3 separate regions of the Homo sapiens genome follow, and regions 1 and 2 are each linked to region 3. The links are contacts of gene promoters, found by promoter capture Hi-C in human tissues and cell types (Jung and others, 2019). All regions are on one chromosome and are shown on one strand. Each heading gives the region's core, a stretch centred on a gene start or on the middle of the fragment in contact. The rest is flanking DNA. Distances are from core to core; before and after follow the strand shown. Region 1 overlaps GACAT2 (gastric cancer associated transcript 2). Region 2 has its middle 19 kb from the start of RAB12. Region 3 holds the start of PTPRM (protein tyrosine phosphatase receptor type M).

Region 1 (2,700 bases), core at 200-2,699, 1.1 Mb after region 3:
TTTTTTTTGCTAGAACAGTTTTGCTTTTATTAAACTATTTAATAAGACATATTTTAAAAGTAAATCAAATTTGGCTATAAATACTTTATATTTAAAAATTAAAATTCTTGAATTATACCCTGTATTTTGCCTTTTTTTCTCATGTAACTATTTTAATGAGGTATCATTCACGTACCATAAAATTTAACTTTTTAAAAGATACAATTCAGTGTGTCTTAGTATATTCACAAAGTTATACAACTATCATCATTATGTAATTCCAGAACACTTTTCTCACCCCAAAAAGAAACCCTGTACCCATTAGCAGCAGTCACTCCCATTCCTCCTTCCCTCAGCCCTTGGCAACTACTAATCTACTTTCTGTCTTTATGGAATTGCTAATTCTGGACATTTTATACAAATGTAATCATGTACTATGTGGCCTTTTGTGGCTGGTTTCTTTCATTTAGTATAGTTTTCAAGGTCCATCCATATTGGATCATGTATCAGTACTTCATTGCTTTTTGTGGCTGGATAATATTTCATTTATTAATATACCACGTTTTGCTTATCCATTCATCTACTGATGGGCATGTGTATTGGAATACTACTATGAACATCTATGTACAAGTTTTTCTGTGTATATATCTTTTTTTTTTTTTTTTTGAGACGGAGTCTCGCTCCGTCGCCCAGGGTGGAGTGCAGTGGCGCAATCCCGGCTCACTGCAAGCTCCGCCCGCCAGGTTCACGCCATTCTCCTGCCTCAGCCTCCCAAGTAGCTGGGACCACAGGCGCCCCCCACCACGCCCGGCTAATTTTTCGTACTCTTAGTAGAGACGGGGTTCCACCGTATCAGCCAGGACGGCCTCGATCTTCTGACCCCGCGATCCACCCGCCTCGGCCTCCCAAAGTGCTGGGACCACAGGCCTGAGCCACCGCGCCCGGCCTGTATATATCTTTTTAATTGTCTTGGGTATACACCTAAGAGTAGAATTGCTGTGTCATATGGTAAATCTCTGAGGAATAGCCAACTTTCCAAAGTGTCTGCACCATTTTACATTCCCATCCACAGTGTATGAGGGTTCTAATTTTTCCACATACTTGCCAACATTTGTTATTGTTCATCTTTTTTTATTTTAGCCATCCTAATGGGTGTGACTTCTATTTGCATTTCTCTAATGACCAATGAAGTTGAGTACATTTTCATATGCTCATTGGTGATTTATATATCTTCTTTGAAGAAATGTCTATTCAAATCCTTTGAACATTTTAAAATTGTGTTACTTGTCTTTTTATTGCTGAGTTGCAAGGGTTCTTTATATATTCTGGACACCAGTTTTGTAGCCATTTAATTTCTTGAAATGAGAATCACTACTTGTGGTTGTCACTCCCCTAACCGTATATTTTTAAAAACTGATATACTTCTCTAATGGTAATACAAAAAAGAAATAATAAGAAACCAACTTATAACAAAATAATATCTATTTCAATATATAAAGCTTAGGTACATATATACTACAAAATATATAATGAAGTAGTCAGATGCTCTACATAGAAGCAACTGCTAAAACACGGACAAATACAGGTGGGTTCTATTCATGACTCCAGTCCCTTGAGTGGCACTCCCTCAATGCAATGATCAAAGATAAAAAATGCATTGAAAATCTCCAAATAAAATGCAGTCTTTATTTTATTTTTATTTTCTTTGTGTTGTTTTGAAACAGACTCTCCCTTTCTCACCCAGTGCAGTGGTGCGATCTCGGCTCACTGCAACCTCCACCTCCTGGGTTCAAGTGATTCTCCTGCCTCACCCTCCCGAGTAGCTGGAATTACAGGCATGTGCCACCACATCCGGCTAATTTGTTGTATTTTCAGTAGAGATGGGGTTTCGCTATGTTAGGCAGGCTGGTCTCAAACTCCTGACCTCAAATGATCCACTGCCCTCGGCCTCCCAAAGTGCTGGGATTATAGGCGTGAGCCACTGTGCCCAGCCCAGTCTTGATTTCTACTGTGGTTTCATTCCTAAAAAAAAATTCAGTTGATGGTAAAACAACCCTAAAAACATACTGCTTTAGTATACATATATCAAAACAACACGGTGTACTCTGTCAATGTAATTATGATAATTATGATTTGTCAATTAATAGTTATATTAACTTTTAAAAAATATTTTAAAAACTTAAAAAATACTGCTTTATATGTAAAAGTATTGTGTTTATGTGTAAAACATGTACTTCTAGCCTTAGATAATGATAAACAGATTTTTTTACCCACGTGAATGTTTCAGAGGACTCTTACTTGGAAGTCCTGTAGCAGGAGAGATGACTCTTTTTTTTTTTCTTTTTCTGAGATGGAGTCTCACTCCATCACCCAGGCTGGAGTACAGTGGCGAGATCTCAGCTCACTGCAACCTCTGCCTCCTCGGTTCAAGCGACTCTCCCACCTCAGCCTCCCGAGTAGCTGGAATTACGGGCACATGCCACCATGACAGGCTAATTTTTGTATTTTTAGTAGAGACAGGGTTTCATCATGTTGGCCAGGCTGGTCTCAAACTCCTGGACTCAAGTGATCCACCACCTCAGCCACGCAAAGTGCTAGGATTACAAGTGTGAGTCACCTCATCCCGCCTAGGACGACCCTTCTCTGGGCACACTGCAAGATATCTAGCCCCCCTGACTATTCCCCTTCCCTCACTTAAATGCCAGTAGTGCCCTCCAATCC
Region 2 (2,700 bases), core at 182-2,681, 1.0 Mb after region 3:
CTTAGACTCAAGGCTGGAAAGACCATTTTTGTCATATGTGTTCCATGTCAGAGAAAGCTAGTTTTTAGAGAGATAGACAAATGAGCCAAGAAAGGCAGAAAAGAAGGGTCCTGGCTGCACAGAGGCGGACTTGTCATCTTGTGACCTCTGTGTACTAGTTTGCTAGGACTGCCATAACAAAGTACCACTGATACGGCAGCTTAAGCAACAGACATTTATTTTCTTATAGTGCTGAAAGCTGGAAGTCTGAGATGAAGGTGTCAACAGGGTTTCTTTCTACTGAGGCCTATCTCCTTGGCTTGCAGGTGGCTACCTTCTCCCCGGGTGCTTACATGGTCTTCCCTCTGTGCATGTCTCTCTCCTAACCTGCCAGTCACACTGGATTAGGGCCCACCTATATGACCTCATTCTACCTTAATCAGCTCTTTAAAGGCCCAACCTCCATATACAGTCACATTCTGAGGTTCTGCAGTTAGGACTTCAACATATGAATCTAAGGGGGCATAGCTCAGCCCATAACACTCTTCTTCTGACTCTCCAGGTCCTGATTGTTACCCCTCCTGGGGCCTGGTTACACTTCCCATCCTTGGGATATAAGATCAGTTCTATCTTTGACTTGTGATAACTTAAGCAGATTTCTACTCCAGCCAGTCAAACAATTCCTCACAAAGATAATTACCCTTTTAGCAAAAGCTGCTCTGTGATTTTTCCAGAATATGAGGATCAGAAATGTTAATACTGTCTTTATATATATGAATGTTAAACAGCAACAGTTTCCAGCTATCTCTTGACGTTTTCATTTTGAACTGATCTCAAATTTCTCAAAGCTTCCTCTTCTTCGGTTGAAATCCATATTCAGGCTCCCATGTCACATGCCAAATCCAAAATGCTATCACTAGCATTCCTGCTCTCTTGGAGGCTATCCTCACAGGTGTTTGGGGACCACCCTCTGGTTCACATTTTCTAAATTGTATGATGTTAGATGTACTTTCCTGGAAAGATACCTGACTTTTCAAGGAAAAATAGAGGATAACATTTGGATAGAAAAAAATGGACACGTCTAGCAGGCAGAAAATAAATAAGGGCTTGGTTAACTCAACACCATCATCAATGAACTGGATACTATGGACATGTACAGACTACCTCATCCAGCATTAGGAGAATATATATTCTCCTTAAGCTCACACAGAACAGTCAGCAAGACAGACCACACCTGAGCCATAAAACACACCTTAATCAATTTCAAAGAATAGATATGATACAATGTCTGTTCTCAGACCACAGTGGAATTAAACTAGAAATCAGTAACAAAGATAGCTGGGAGATCTTAAAATACTTGGAGGTTAAACAGCACACTTCTAAATAATAGATGGGTCAAAGAAGAAATTTCAAGAGAAATTTTAAAATAGTTTGAATCAAATGAAGATGAAAGCACGTCCTATCAAAATCTGTGGGATGCAGCAAAAGCAGCATTTAGAGGGAAATTTATAGCATTGAATACATAGATTAGAAAAGAGGAAAGATCTAAAATCAATTCTCTAAGCTTCCACCTTAGGAACCTAAGAAAAGGAGAGCAAACAAAATCCAAAGTAAATAGAAGAAAATAAATGATAAAAATTAGAGCAGAAATCGATGATATTGAAACAGAAAATCAATGGCGAAAATCAATGAAACCAAAAGCTGGTTCTTTGAAAAGATCAATAAAAATAATAAGCAGGCTAACTAAGAAAATAAGAGACAATACAAATTACTATTATAAGAAATATAAGAGGGGAAATCACTATGAATCCCCTAGATATTAAAAGGATAACCAAGGAATACTATGAACAACTCTGTGTCCACATATTTGATAACCTAAATGAAATAGAGCAATTCCTTGAAAGTCACAATCTGCCAAAACTCACACAAGAGGAATCTGAACAGGACTATATTTATTTTAAAAATTGAATCAATAAGTAATAACCTTCCAAAACAGAAAGCACCAGGCCTAGATGGCTGGTGAATTCTAAACACTGAAGAAAGAAATTATACCAATTCTCTACAATCTTTTTCAGAAGAGAGAACCAAAGAAAATACTTCCTACCTCATTCCCTGAGTCCAGCATTACACTAATATCAAAACCAGATAAAGACATAACAAGAATGGAAAACTACAGGCCAATATGTCTCATGAACACAGATATAAAAATGCTCAACGGCCGGGTGCGGTGGCTCATGCCTGTAATCCGAGCACTTTGGGGGGCCGAGGTGGGCAGAAAACTTGAAGTCAGGAGTGCGAGACCGGCCTAACCAACATGGTGAAACCCCATCTCTACTAAAAATACAACAATTAGCCGGGCGTGGTGGCGCATGCTTGTAATCTCAGCTACTCAGGAGGCTGAGGCAGGAGAATCACTTGAACCCAAGATAGCACCACTGAACTCCAGCCTGGGTAACAGAGTGAGACTTTGTCTCAAAAAAAAAAATGCTCAACAAAATATTAGCAATTCAAGTCCAACGATGTCTAAAAATAATTATATACCACAACAAAGTGGAATTTACTCCATGCATGCATGGCAACATTAAAAAATCAAATAAATGTAATGCATCACATCAACAAGCTAAAGAAGAAAAATCACATGATCATATCAAAAGATGCAGAGAAAGCATTGACAAAATCCAACACCCATTCTTGATAAAAACTGTCAGTAAACCAGATATG
Region 3 (2,700 bases), core at 15-2,514:
GAGTGTGGAATCCATTTATTTTTTTACGTGTTTATAAGCACTAGAAAGCAGTGAGCACTAAGCAGAGGACCCCTCTTGCGGAAAAAGTGCAGGAGAGCTCCTGGGTGCCTCTGTATCACCGGTTTGCCTTCTAGCCAGAATCATTGCTAGAACCCTGTCACTCAGTTACTTTGGTTCCTAATTTAACCTCTTCCCAAGCCTTCTATTGCGTTCAGTTAGCTAGGCCAGGAGCTTACAGCTGTCTGGTTGGTGCTGGCTCAATGTGCTTATTCCCTGGAAGATAGAAGGATCACTTACAAAAAAATTTACAATTAAAATAAAAAAATTATTTTTTGCTGAAGCATTGTAAGGTTTTTTTAATTCACTCAGACCCAAAATCGTAAAACTAAAATATTTCAAGACATTACTTGATTCACCCCCCACTTCTCTTTCTCCCCTGTTTCTCAGCACTTTGCACCAGATACAGAAACCACGGGTTATGTCCAAACCCTGGTTTTGGTGTGACCACCGCCTTCCGTGTACTGCCTGCGGCTCGCTTCGGGCCCACACGGGACACCGAGGCATGATGAGGACGCAGAACAGCAGAAGCGCGCCCTGCTTCCCGGGCGCCAGTGCTCGGGGCCAGCGGCGTGTACCCGGCGGGCCCGGCCGGGAGCGGGCTGGCGATCGCGGGGCTCGGCGCTCCCGGCTCCCGCGCCATCTCCCGGCGCCCGCCAACTTCGCTCCGCCCGCGGCGTAGAGAAGCTCGCAGCCCTCCGGAGCCTCAGCGATCTCCTGGCTCGCTTTTCCCGCAGCCGCCGAGCAGCGCAGGCCCGGCGACTCCGGGTGCAGCTGGCCCTGTGCGGTGACATCGCCGTCCGGCGCCAGGCTCGAAGCCGCCTGGCCGCGCCCGCGGGGTCGCAGGCCGCTGGTCCCGCCCGGCCGCGCTCACAAACTACTCGCGGCTCGTGACCCGGGACAAACTTCTGGCGGCGGCGCAGCCTCTTCCACAGTCACCCTCCCCAGAGCCAGCTACCAAAATAGAAGACGCGGCCGGGGCGAGGAGGTGGGCGGGGGGAGCCCGGTGGCCGCTCCTCCCCGCGCGGCTGACGCCCGCTTCGGCGGCGGTAGTGGCTGTGGCCGCGGGGCCGCCCCCAGCCGAGCTCCCGGAGGCGCTCGGGCGCGGGCCGGCGGGGCACGGGCGCTCACGCCCTCTAGCGGGCCGCGGCGGCGCCGGGCGGCCGTGACGTGAGCGCTCCCTTCAGCCGGCCTGCGGGGCACCGCCAGTCAGTCGGGGAGCAAGAGCCCCGCGCGCAGCCGGCGCGGGCTCGGTCATCGGCGCGCCGCCGCCCGGGGCTGGGCTTGGGGCTGCCTGTGGAGAGGCGGCGGGCGGAACGCGCGCGGCCACGGCCACGGCCACCGCCACGGCCACGGCCGGCAGCTCGGGTCCCGGGTCCCGGGCAGGGGAAGGGGAGAGGCGGCGAGCTCAGCAACCGGAACCGAGGGAAGATTTTGGCTCCGCGGGCTCGCCCTCCGCTCCCTCTGCCAGCGGCGCCAGACGCCGAGTGGGGCCAGGGACAGGGGAGGAGGACCCAGGACCCTGTGCCCGCGCCCCTGGAGCCGCTGGAGTTCGGACTTCTGCAACTGTTGGCACTTTGGGGGCTTGGCTTAGCGCTCTGCTGTTTACCCGTCTCTCCTCGCTGCCTCGGAACCAAAGCTCCCGGCCCCCTCCGCCCTCGCGCGCCCACCCACCGCCGCCGGGGAGCGGCCCGGCCCGCACTCAGCACCATGAGGGGACTTGGGACTTGCCTGGCGACTTTGGCCGGACTTTTGCTAACTGCGGCGGGCGAGACGTTCTCAGGTAAGCGGGACCGCCTCTGCCGCCCCCGAGGCGCGCGGGCCGGCGCGGGACGCCCGGGACGCCGACAGCTCCCTGGTGGTAGAGCCCTAAGGCTGGCGTCGGGGCCGGGCGGGGGGCGCGGCGGGCCGGACACCGCTTCTGCCTGTGAGCCGGGCGCTGGGCGAGGGGCCGTGGGGCTGGCAGGCACCCAGTCCTCGGGCGGGCGGAGCGGACGGACCCCGAGGGCGAGCTCCCCAGCCGGGACTGCCAGCTCGGCCGCCGTCCTTCCGCGGCCTGGGCTAGTGCTCAAGGTTGGGCGGCTTGCACTCTTGAGTCCCTGGCCGGCTGCAAAAGGAACAGCAGAAAACTTTGCTTGAAGTTCCCAGTTGCAGCCGCCGGGCCGCCTGGCGTAGGCGCTGCGCGGTCCCCGCCGACCCCGAGCAGCGGCCGGGCCCAGGCCGCTGGTGTTCGGCTGCGCCCGCAGCGATCGCCGGGAACTGGCGGCCGCTCCGGCGGCGGCGATCTCCCGGTGCCCTGCCCTCCCTGTCGCCCCCTGCCCGGCGCGGCTGGCGACCCCGGGAGGTCCCCGCGGTCGTGCAGCGTCTGCGGAGAGGCTGGGGGGAGTTCCTCGCCGGTCCCAGCGGTAGGGCTTGGCGGCCGCGGAGGGAAGCGGGCAGGTCCCCAGGCCCTGGCCACGGCCCTGCGCCCCGCTGGGCTCCCCCTCCCCACCCTCGTCCCCCTAGCGGAGCGCCGCGGCCAGCTGCAACTTGTTCATCCAGCCCGGCTGCCCGGGGGTCCCAGGTGGGAAGGAGAGGCACTGGCGGTGTGCGAGCAAGCGTGTGAGTGTGTGCGCGTGTGTGCCTGCACGCGCGCGCGGGGGC

Evidence for each region. The method cuts DNA at HindIII sites, captures the fragments that hold promoters and counts their contacts. A contact is called where the count stands out against the background at its distance.
Region 1: a contact is called between a fragment that was not itself captured here and the fragment with the promoter of PTPRM in region 3, in 1 of the 25 tissues and cell types used here (dorsolateral prefrontal cortex).
Region 2: a contact is called between a fragment that was not itself captured here and the fragment with the promoter of PTPRM in region 3, in 1 of the 25 tissues and cell types used here (lymphoblastoid cells).

Annotation. Positions count from the first base shown.
Region 1 is chr18:8,697,064-8,699,763 of GRCh38, forward strand. The region is part of intron 1 of GACAT2 (gastric cancer associated transcript 2); the gene reads right to left. Among named protein-coding and RNA genes, the nearest start is that of MTCL1, 7.1 kb to the right of the region's middle. The HindIII fragment of the contact is 4,689 bases long and covers 1-2,700 here.
Region 2 is chr18:8,588,926-8,591,625 of GRCh38, forward strand. No RefSeq gene overlaps it. Among named protein-coding and RNA genes, the nearest start is that of RAB12, 19 kb to the right of the region's middle. The HindIII fragment of the contact is 4,842 bases long and covers 1-2,700 here.
Region 3 is chr18:7,566,052-7,568,751 of GRCh38, forward strand. It overlaps PTPRM (protein tyrosine phosphatase receptor type M), which reads left to right and starts at 1,265. Exons shown (of 33, transcript NM_001105244.2): 1 at 1,265-1,840. The coding sequence starts at 1,768. RefSeq lists a silencer at 946-1,315. The HindIII fragment of the contact is 7,623 bases long and covers 1-2,700 here.